3 separate regions of the Homo sapiens genome follow, and all the other regions are linked to region 1. The links are contacts of gene promoters, found by promoter capture Hi-C in blood cells and fetal thymus (Javierre and others, 2016). All regions are on one chromosome and are shown on one strand. Each heading gives the region's core, a stretch centred on a gene start or on the middle of the fragment in contact. The rest is flanking DNA. Distances are from core to core; before and after follow the strand shown. Region 1 holds the start of EML5 (EMAP like 5). Region 2 overlaps TDP1 (tyrosyl-DNA phosphodiesterase 1). Region 3 overlaps EFCAB11 (EF-hand calcium binding domain 11).

Region 1 (3,294 bases), core at 568-3,067:
CCTTTCCCTCTTACATATTATAGATGTACAGAGACGCAAAACAGAAGAACAACTTTATTTGTGGAATTTACATACCAGGGCTTCTTGCCTACAAGACTTCAAACCAAGGTACCGTATTTGAAATGCCCAATTTAAATCCTGTGCAACATACATGAGGGAATAACATTTTGTAACCAAACCCAAATCGTAGAATCTTTGATAAAACCCCAAGAGCACCACACAAACACATTCTCAATTGCTTTTAATATATTTTCCTCTGTAAAGGACAAAAAATGCTGTGCTTGAGGCAATAATCAGTGGCCTAGAATGATTTCTGAAGCTCTTGACTTTACCATAAAAGTTGTACTAAGACACTGATTGAAAATTACATTTCAAATATACCGCTCACTAAAGAAATGTCAACAAGCTCTGGGACCAACTTTGAGTTATTGTCCAAGGAAGACTAAAAATAGCCCCCCAATAGCGATTTAATTTTAAGAAAATACAAAAGTAGCTTATTTAGGAGTATTTTAATGAAGATGAAGAGAACTGGAAATCAGTGAAGTTTTCAGCAGCCTCTTCAGATAAGACCTACCTTAAATTGCCTTCAGGTGTGCACATTTTAACATCCAGTGAATTGCCTGGAGGTTGCCTGGGGTTTCTGCTGATTATAGCAGGCGGTGAAACCTGAACTAATAATTACGGCCAGGAGGTGAGAGCCCTTCAGGACGCCACCCTGGGCGCGCTCCCCGGGAGCAGCCCACCGCTTGCTGTGCTTCCATCAGTCCTTTATTAGGTAAAGGGTTTCCCCCCACCCCGGGTGCTTTAAGAATGCGTTTAATAAGAAATTTCTCACAGGATCTAACGGAATAAAGTGCCACCAAAATAACCTTTTCGCAGTTTTCGTAATTGTGATGGAGTGGGAAAGGGGACAAAGCCGTCAAACCGGGTGCCCGGTGGATCCGCGGACCTGATCTTCCTGCACGGACCCGAGAGAGAGTCCCTAGACGAGGAAGAGGGGAAAGGCATTTGTAGGGTGTTAACTGGTGGACTCGGGACCAGAGAGACAGCTGCGGATTCCCCTCGGGGTGATGCTCCGTGCAGGAGCGGTCACGGCGTCCAGAGGAACCCGCGGGTGCAAACTCCGGGAGCGGCTTGCAGGGTGACGGCGGCGGCCCCCGCTCCCCGGTACCTGATGATGTCGTCGCTGTGGCCCCGGTAGAACTTCTGCCTGTGCTCCCGCGGGCTGTACACCACGCCGACCCCCGCCACGAAGTATACGATCTCCTTGGCCGCAGTGTAGTAGAGGTTGTTGCGGCACTGGTGGCCCCGGTAGCCGTACACCCACTCGAGCCGCAGGTGGCAGCTCGGGGCGCTCCGGGCCGCCATGTCGGGGCGCCCACCCGCCGCTCCCGCTCGGGCCCGCGGCGGCGACGGGAGGCGGCGGCGGCCCGGCAACGAAAGCCCTCCCGCTGGCTGCCGGGACTTCCCGCCAGCCGCGTCCTCTAAGCCGCGCCCGTCAGGTGCATCTCGTTTCGGGGGCCGCCGCCGCCTCAGCCCACAGGCGGGAGGAAAACCCTCGCCTCGCGGAACATGCTGAGGGCCGCGAGCGCCGCCGGCTGTCAAGTGGATGCCCAGAGCCCTTCGCCCGCCTCGGCTCGCCTAGTCTCCTCAGCCCGTAGCGCCTGGGCCGAGAGCGAGGGCCCGCCTCCAGCTCCTCAGCCGCCGCCCGCGCACGCAGCTCCCAGCCCCGGTCACCTGCGGCGCTCGCGCCCCGCCGCGGCTTTGTAGCCACAGCCTGGCGGACCCGCGCCGCGCACCCCGAAACCGAGCGAGCCGAGCCGAGCCGAGCCGAGCGGCGGGCGCGCGGCCTTGCGTGGCCCCGCCCCCTCCCGCGCTCACTCCGCCCCTCCCGGAGCCGAGAAGAGGCTGGAGTTCGCGGGGCCACGGTCTAGTTGCGGAGTCGCTGGGACCGCGTCTCTGCAAGTGCGCGGGCCGGTGAGCCCTCCCTCGTTGAGCTGCTTAAGCCCAGGCGGACCCTCGGCGACCCCGGGCTCCCGCTGCTTTGCGTCCTCAACCGGGAAGCACCTGCCGGTTCCGCACGGTCCCTGCACCCAGCGTAGGCCACGTTTTTGCCTGGGAAAATCCACACCGGGATGCTAAATTCTCTTTTTTACGCTTGATACCTTGTGTGTCTTGCTGCCTTATAGTGCTTTCGGACCCAGACATTGGAATGATGCCGAGCTTCCTAAATGTGCTTTTAAATTATTATTTTTAGAAACAGAGCCTCGCTCTGTCGCCCAGGCTGGAGTGGAGTGGCGCAGTCTCAGCTCACTGTAGCCTCCAACTCCTGGGCTCCAGCGATCCTCCCGCCTCAGTCTCCGGAGTAGTAAGGAGTACAGTTGCGTACCACTATGCCCGGCAAATGTTTTGCTTTGTTTTTAAGTTTATTTTGTAGAGGCGGGGGTCTTGCTGTGTTGCCCAGGCTGGTCTCCACCTCCTGACCTTCAGCAGTTCTTCTGCCTCAGGCCTCCCAAAGCGCTGGGATTACAGGCCCAATCCACTGCTCCTGGTCCTAAGTGTATGTTTTCTTAAGTGACCGCAAAGCTGAAGGTAGACTTTAGATGGTAAACTGACATGTGAGATCTGATTTCCGAATAGCAAAAAAAAAAAAAATTGTACTTCGATTTTTTTAAAAATGACTGGGACATCACCAACAGTTACTCTTAATTAAATAAATTCAATTGTGATCCTGTAGAAAACTCCTGTAATAAAAGTATTGGGAACAATCAATTCCTGACTATGTCATTTCCCCTCCTACTCAGTTGTGTCCTCTTCTCACAGGAATATGAACAAGATTTATCAATACCTCTAAAAATAATTGGAAATCCACAATTTAAAAAGTGTTAAGTTCAGGATGGCCACAAGATTTACAACAAAAAAATACTAATTCAGGATATACCAATATGAACCCTTATTGTCTAAAAATTACTGTTTGATTTCCATAGGAAATACCAAGACAGAAATCTGACAAAAGCTAAAATAAACTACCATCGTTTCAAGAAATATGACTCCAAAAGGGGTTGACTCCTGTGTGGTACAGATATATTGGAATAGATGTTATCCAATGTCTACTTCCTCAAAGATGCCAGTTACTAACTTGAGACAGGATTACCGTTTCGTCTTTGATTATGACTTCTAATCTGCAAGCAGTTTACATGCAGGAAATAAAGGCCATCTGAAAGGAATTTACATAGATGTCATGAAAAGTAAACTCTGAAAGAGTTTCCATTCTGGGCAGAATCTGAAAAAGAG
Region 2 (3,294 bases), core at 543-3,042, 1.2 Mb after region 1:
GGCCTGTGGAACCAGAGGGGTCAGTTAGTCAAGCATCTGGCAGTAGGTGAGCTGCAATTGTTTAGATATTCCTTATCTCTAGGCCAGTGCTTATTTAGCTGCTGAAGAAAAAAGAACCTTGTGGAAGGTAGAACATAGTTTAAAGGTAGCAGTGTGTGATTTAACCCTTGCTTGGCATGGCCTTAGGTCTTGTTTATGATTTAGTGTCATATTGTCACAGAATCTATTCTGCCAGTCTTACGATCTCTGGTCAGTTGTGTTTAAACCGCAGAAGGGAGGGGATATAACAGGCATGTCTGAGCTCCCATCTCATCATGGCCCGGAACTCAGTTTTTAAGGTTTCTCTGGGGTCCCCTTAGCCAAGATTTTTATTTTTAGTTCTCATCTAGAGACATATGCATATGTATTGATTTGCAAATCTTTTGATGTAGAATAATGTTGAATTCTCTTTTTTGGGGAATGTAGGTTTTGTGAAGGGAGTGTCACCATCTTGGTTTACTCCACTCAATGCATCTTTTCCAGCCTCATTAAAACAGCAGAAACTCGAAGATACTGTTGATCTGAGCACAGACTACTGAGTTTTGTAATTTTCCCCTGGGTCTTGTGCTAAAATGTTAAAAGTATCACATTGAGGAACTGTTCTTTAGCTGTCTGGAAAGTCTACTTAGATAGTCCTTTACCACTGAATTGACAAGATTTGGTAGGTAACAGCAAAAGTGACTGTTTCGTGTACTTTCCTGTTCTCAGAACAAGAAAGTAGAATTTGACTGTGGGGCTTAAAAAATAAAAGTGTGTTGCTTCAGTACAAGTTATTTCTGTGTAGGTGTTAGTAGATTTATGATGTAGCCAATAGGATAATTATATCTTGATATAATTATATCCAACTAATTATAATTAGTTGGGTCCTCATGGAAGTAGTGTAAATAATGTACATACCTAAGTGGTCATTTGGCTTTCCTCTTGAAGACTTTGTTAAGCTTTATGGTAAATGGGTTGTCTTTTGGGAAGTAAGACATACATAATCACTGAAGTCCTGTGGGTGCCTGTACTTGGGTGAAGGCTAGGTTTGTAAATTCCAATTTGACCTTAAGCATTTGAACATAGATTAAATGGACCTTAATCCCAAACGCTTATTGGAAGTTTCGGGGTCAAGAATGAATGTTTGTTTTATTTTGGCATTTGTCTTGATGCATTCTTCAACCCCCTTTCCTAGGACATCTAAGAACAAAGTTTAGATTGAAAGCCAAGGCCAGGCATGGTGGCTTATACTTGTAATCCCAGCACTTTGGAAGGCCAAGGTGGGTGGATCTCTTGAGTCCAGGAGTTCAAGGCCAGCCTGGGCAACAATAATGAAACCCTGTCTCTACCAAAAAAAAAGAAAAAAAAAATTAGCCAGACGTGATGGCGTGCACCTGTAGTTCCAGCTATTCGAGAGGATGAGGCAGGAGGATTGCTTGAGCCCAGGAGGCAGATGTTGCAGTCAGCTGAGATTGAACCACTGCACCACTCCAGCTGGGTGACAGAGCGAGACCCTGTTTCAAAAAAAAAAAGGAAGAAAAAAGAAAGGTGACCAGGACTTTTGCTTGTGATTTGGCAGAATCTGATAGTGGATTCTGGTAATGTGCTTATAAACACCCAAAAAGCAGCTGATGTTAGGTGGTTCAGCCTCTGGAAGGTGTCAGCTCATCTGACAGGGAAGTTGAGAGCAATAAAGTTATTTTGCCAATGCCCTGATGAATGGGAAATGCTGATGTTTCCACTTTTCATTTCCAGGAGTATAATGTCTCAGGAAGGCGATTATGGGAGGTGGACCATATCTAGTAGTGATGAAAGTGAGGAAGAAAAGCCAAAACCAGACAAGCCATCTACCTCTTCTCTTCTCTGTGCCAGGCAAGGAGCAGCAAATGAGCCCAGGTACACCTGTTCCGAGGCCCAGAAAGCTGCACACAAGAGGAAAATATCACCTGTGAAATTCAGCAATACAGATTCAGTTTTACCTCCCAAAAGGCAGAAAAGCGGTTCCCAGGAGGACCTCGGCTGGTGTCTGTCCAGCAGTGATGATGAGCTGCAACCAGAAATGCCGCAGAAGCAGGCTGAGAAAGTGGTGATCAAAAAGGAGAAAGACATCTCTGCTCCCAATGACGGCACTGCCCAAAGAACTGAAAATCATGGCGCTCCCGCCTGCCACAGGCTCAAAGAGGAGGAAGACGAGTATGAGACATCAGGGGAGGGCCAGGACATTTGGGACATGCTGGATAAAGGGAACCCCTTCCAGTTTTACCTCACTAGAGTCTCTGGAGTTAAGCCAAAGTATAACTCTGGAGCCCTCCACATCAAGGGTAAGAGGATGCTGGGTGTCAAGGAGCTGTTGAATTGCCCTTGAGAGTCTCTCCTCCGTGAAACAAGGAGGGCAGCCTAGAATAGTTTCTGAGAACTCTTCTTTGTGTTCTTAACTACTTTCAGGAAAAAAATTCTTGACAGGCAAGTGCATTAGTATAACAGCAGACTGTTTACTTAACTCAGGCAGAGCGTGTGTTCTCAAAACCCTGTAGCTCAACCCCTTATATCACTTAGCACGATGTTTAGCATTATTTAACTTTTTAAGATGAAGCTTGATGAGTAACAGTTTATCAACAAGGTAGCAAATACTTGACAACAGTAGTAGTTCTCCATGGGCCCTGGACCAGCAGCCTCAGCATCACCTGCAACTTGTTAAAATGCAAATTCTCGGGCCCCATTCCCGATTCATTAAATTGGACTCTGAGGGTGAGATCCTGCAGTCTGTGTTTTCACGAGCCCTTGAGGGGATTCTACTGCCCAGTCAAGTTTGAGAACCACTGCTTAAAAGCCTGGTTTTAGTTCCTGGTGAAGAAGAAGAAGAAAAAACAAAATAGTGCCTGAGTGCAAATAGATGTTTCAGTTATGGATCAAAAGATGGCCTTAGTTTGCTCTCCTTATTCCTCAGGGAGCACCTGCAGGAGGAAGAGCAGGAGCTCTAGAATCTGCTTTCTGGCCTCACCACTCATTTGCTGTATGGATTGTTAACACAGGACCTAACATTCTCTGAATTTTAGTTTGCTCATCTTTAAACTGGAAATGCAGAAAAATGGGAGCAAATATATGAAGTAACCAGTGTAATATATTCACATGGCAGATACAATAAACATTATTACCCTTATTTCAGATTTTTTTCCTGTCCCATATTTAAGAATAGTAATGTTCACTGTCAGCAGTGTTGTTCTTTTTTTATATATCCAGTATATAATTGTATATTGTGTGTGATGTATACATGTT
Region 3 (3,294 bases), core at 211-2,710, 1.1 Mb after region 1:
TGAAACATATTCACTGTTTTCTAAATGGGTAATTAAATAAACATGGATGGGTGAATATCTGTAGGAGATTCCATAAAATGCTACGATTATAATTTCAAAATAAGGTAACCTTAATGTGTATGCAGTTTCCTGATTATAGAAAAGAACTAAGAAGCCAATTGAAATCTGAAATCAACCAAAACCTTCATCCCTGCTATACCCTGATCTTTGTTCCATAGGAGCCAAAATAAAAAACCATACACAACAGCAGGTGTTTTATGACAGAAACTAAGACCAGAAAAAGGATATTTAAATTTAGAAAAATAATACCTTTAATAGTCAACTGTCTTGTTTAGAACAAGCCAGACAAGATATTAATAAATAAAAGCATGCAAGCCAACTGACCATTAACCTACTCATCCACAAATTATTTTTCAATTGGACCTTACACTGGATAGCAGTCACACAGTCCATAATTACTGCTATGATGAATCAATCGCTTTGATTTTTCCATCATTCAAAGTTGAGGGTTAAAAGTAAGTTCCTGGAAAGCTTTTTCAAGTATCAAAGTAGAATATGTTCATTAATTTAAAATGGCAATAGTATAAGGAAACAGAAAAGATGCTCAATCTAATCGCCTAGTGAAAACAAAATTCTGAAGTCCTTTTTTCTGGTTTTTAATCTTAGGCATATTTTACATAGATCCGAGATAATAACAAAGAGACAAATGTATGAGGATTCAGTGGGACAATGCTCATTCAGTTCTTATTTATAGCTTTTAGCATAAAGAAAAGCCCTGTAAATCTTAGCTGTTGTTATTTATATAGAATGATCTACAATTTATTCTGGAATAAAGTCAGACCACCTGAGATATGTATACTTGGAACACACAGCCTTTGCCCTTCATAGAATTGCCCTGACATTAAACACTGGTCTACATTGAGAAAAGATGAAGCAACAGCCTTACAAAATTCACTACTGCATTTATTGAACAGCTCATCGACACTGACATCCACTCAGCAGCCTCCCCTCCATGAGACATCACAGAAGAACTATCCCAGGGCAGGAGGACTTATGCCTCTCTAGAAAAATTGTTTTGTTGCATGGACCCTGACTGCAGCTGTGCTTGCTCGTGTTTTCCTATTTGTTCTGGATGCTAGGTAGTCCAGAACCAAATTTGAAATTAATGCCTAACAACTATAGAGAACATGGTGATTTGTTTTTCGTGTATTGATTCTACTCCTGACTTCAACTCATTGATTCATAAAGTTCCTTAGGGGAATGAATACTGGCCTCGATTTTGTCACAATTAGGAGTATGACCCATGGCACTATTAAAAATCAAAGGAAGGGCTCATCAATTGGTTAAGAGGGTGAGCTAGAAGGTCGGATCACGTTGGTCTGGTACTTACTAGCTACCGGTGCCACTCTGGGCAAATTATTTAATCTTGCTAGGCTTCTGGATTTATTTATTTTTTATTTTTAAACTTTTTAGTACTTTTTTTTTTTTTCAGAGATATGGTCTTGCTCTGTTGCCCAGGCTGGTCTCAAACTCCTGGACTCAAGTGATCTTCCCACCTCAGCCTCCCAAGTAGCTGGGAATATAGGTGCATACCGCCATGAATGGCCAGAGTTTTTTAACTTCTAAAATGGGGATAGCCAGGCACAGTGGCTCATGCCTGTAATCCCAGCACTTTGGGAGGCTAAGGTGGGAGGATCACTTGAGCCCAGGAGTTAGAGACCCTGTCTCAAAAATAATCATCTAAAATGATAAATAAAATATAATGAGGATAATATGGTTTGGCTCTGTGTCCTTACCCTACCCAAATCTCATCTCGAATTGTAATCCCTGTCAGGGCAGGGGCCTGGTGGGAGGTGACTGAATCATGAGGGCTGACTTCCCCCTTGTTGTTCTCACCAGATCTGGTTGTTTGAAAGAGTGTGTCAATTCCCCGTTCACTCTCTCTCTCTCCTGCCACCATGGGAAGAAGGTCTTTGCTTCACCTTTGCCTTCTGCCATGATTCTAAGTTTCCTGAGGCCTCCCCAGTCATGCTTCCTGTTAAGTCTGTGGAACTGTGAGTCAATTAAACCTCTTTATAAATTACTCAGTCTCAGGTAGTTCTTTATAGCAGTGTGAAAATGGACTAATACAGAGGATAATCATAATATCATAGTTACATTAAATATAACAATCATCACAGATGAATGTGCTCATCACAGATCTGCATGATAACTGTTCAGGAAATGATTGCTGCAATTATCTATAATAATAATAAATACTGTAAAAGGATTTTGCCAAGTATTTATTATTTTATTATTCCTCTATATCATTTTGTGATTCTTCTCTGAAGCCTAGGTTCCTCATTTTAAAATAAGGACAGATGACTGTTTTCCAGGTCTCTTCTAGTTGCAAGCTTCTTCATTCTATACACTTGGAAAAGTTATGAAGTGCATCACAGAGAATGAGGGTTATAATGAAACCCTCTGAAAGAGGTAGCAAGACTATAAATCAGAACCAACCTCAACTGTGATCTGCCGCTTCCTTTAACTAATGGCTTGATTTTTTTCTCCCACTCATATATTTCCTTGTTTCAAGCAGCCACAACAGTTTTTGCTTATATTCACTTGCTTGTTAGGTTACAGGCAATAAAAACATCATTAGCACCTTTCTGCTACTCACCCTGGCTGCCCTCAAATTCTCCCAGCATGTACACTTCTTCCAGATACTTTACTCTTATTTCTACTAGCTTTGACTTAACTTTTCACTCTTCTTAATTTTCACGAGGAAATCTCTATTGAAATGACCTACTTTTCAAGAGGATTCGAAGCCCTTGGGAAGCAGGGCCTGGGCATCCAGGTTTAGGTATAATCCCGAACCCAAAGTGCAGGGTGTCTAGCTTCCGGACTCTGGCCCTTCCTAAAAGCAGCTGAGTCTGGGCCAACCTAGAATGTGAGTCTGACCTTGCCCTGCAAGCTGGGCAGCAACTGGGCCCTGCAAAAGAATCCTGTGGATGGTGTGTTAGAGCCCTGTTCCGAAGTAAGAAGAACAATGGATAGCAGAGAATTCCCAAGTCACAGCTGTATTATACAGAACAACTTTGGAAAGTTGATTACCTGAATAAATAGTTCCCAGGAGGCCAAGGCCAGCATTTCAGACCTGTTTTTTTTTTTTTTTTGAAACAGGGTCTCGCTCTGTCACCTAGGCTGGCGTGCAGTGGCGTGATCATGGCTCACAGCAGTCTCAACCTCCTGGGCTCAAGCAATCCTCTACCTCAGCCCCCTGAGTAGCTGGGACTGGCATGTACCATCAGGCCT

What was found. The method cuts DNA at HindIII sites, captures the fragments that hold promoters and counts their contacts. A CHiCAGO score of 5 or more calls a contact.
Region 2: a contact is called between a fragment that was not itself captured here and the fragment with the promoter of EML5 in region 1, in 2 of 17 cell types (non-activated CD4 T cells and activated CD4 T cells). The highest score is 6.2, in non-activated CD4 T cells.
Region 3: a fragment that was not itself captured here is called in contact with the fragment with the promoter of EML5 in region 1 in 1 of 17 cell types (fetal thymus); the score reaches 10.5 in fetal thymus.

What each region holds. Positions count from the first base shown.
Region 1 is chr14:88,791,136-88,794,429 of GRCh38, forward strand. It overlaps EML5 (EMAP like 5), which reads right to left and starts at 1,818. Exons shown (of 44, transcript NM_183387.3): 1 at 1,172-1,818. The coding sequence starts at 1,368. RefSeq lists silencers at 1,329-1,408, 1,599-1,958. The HindIII fragment of the contact is 21,479 bases long and covers 1-3,294 here.
Region 2 is chr14:89,961,335-89,964,628 of GRCh38, forward strand. TDP1 (tyrosyl-DNA phosphodiesterase 1) reads left to right here. Exons shown (of 17, transcript NM_018319.4): 3 at 1,774-2,339. The coding sequence starts at 1,781. Among named protein-coding and RNA genes, the nearest start is that of TDP1, 7.1 kb to the left of the region's middle. RefSeq lists an enhancer at 1,542-2,741. The HindIII fragment of the contact is 1,634 bases long and covers 976-2,609 here.
Region 3 is chr14:89,940,109-89,943,402 of GRCh38, forward strand. The region is part of intron 3 of EFCAB11 (EF-hand calcium binding domain 11); the gene reads right to left. Among named protein-coding and RNA genes, the nearest start is that of EFCAB11, 13 kb to the right of the region's middle. The HindIII fragment of the contact is 1,862 bases long and covers 530-2,391 here.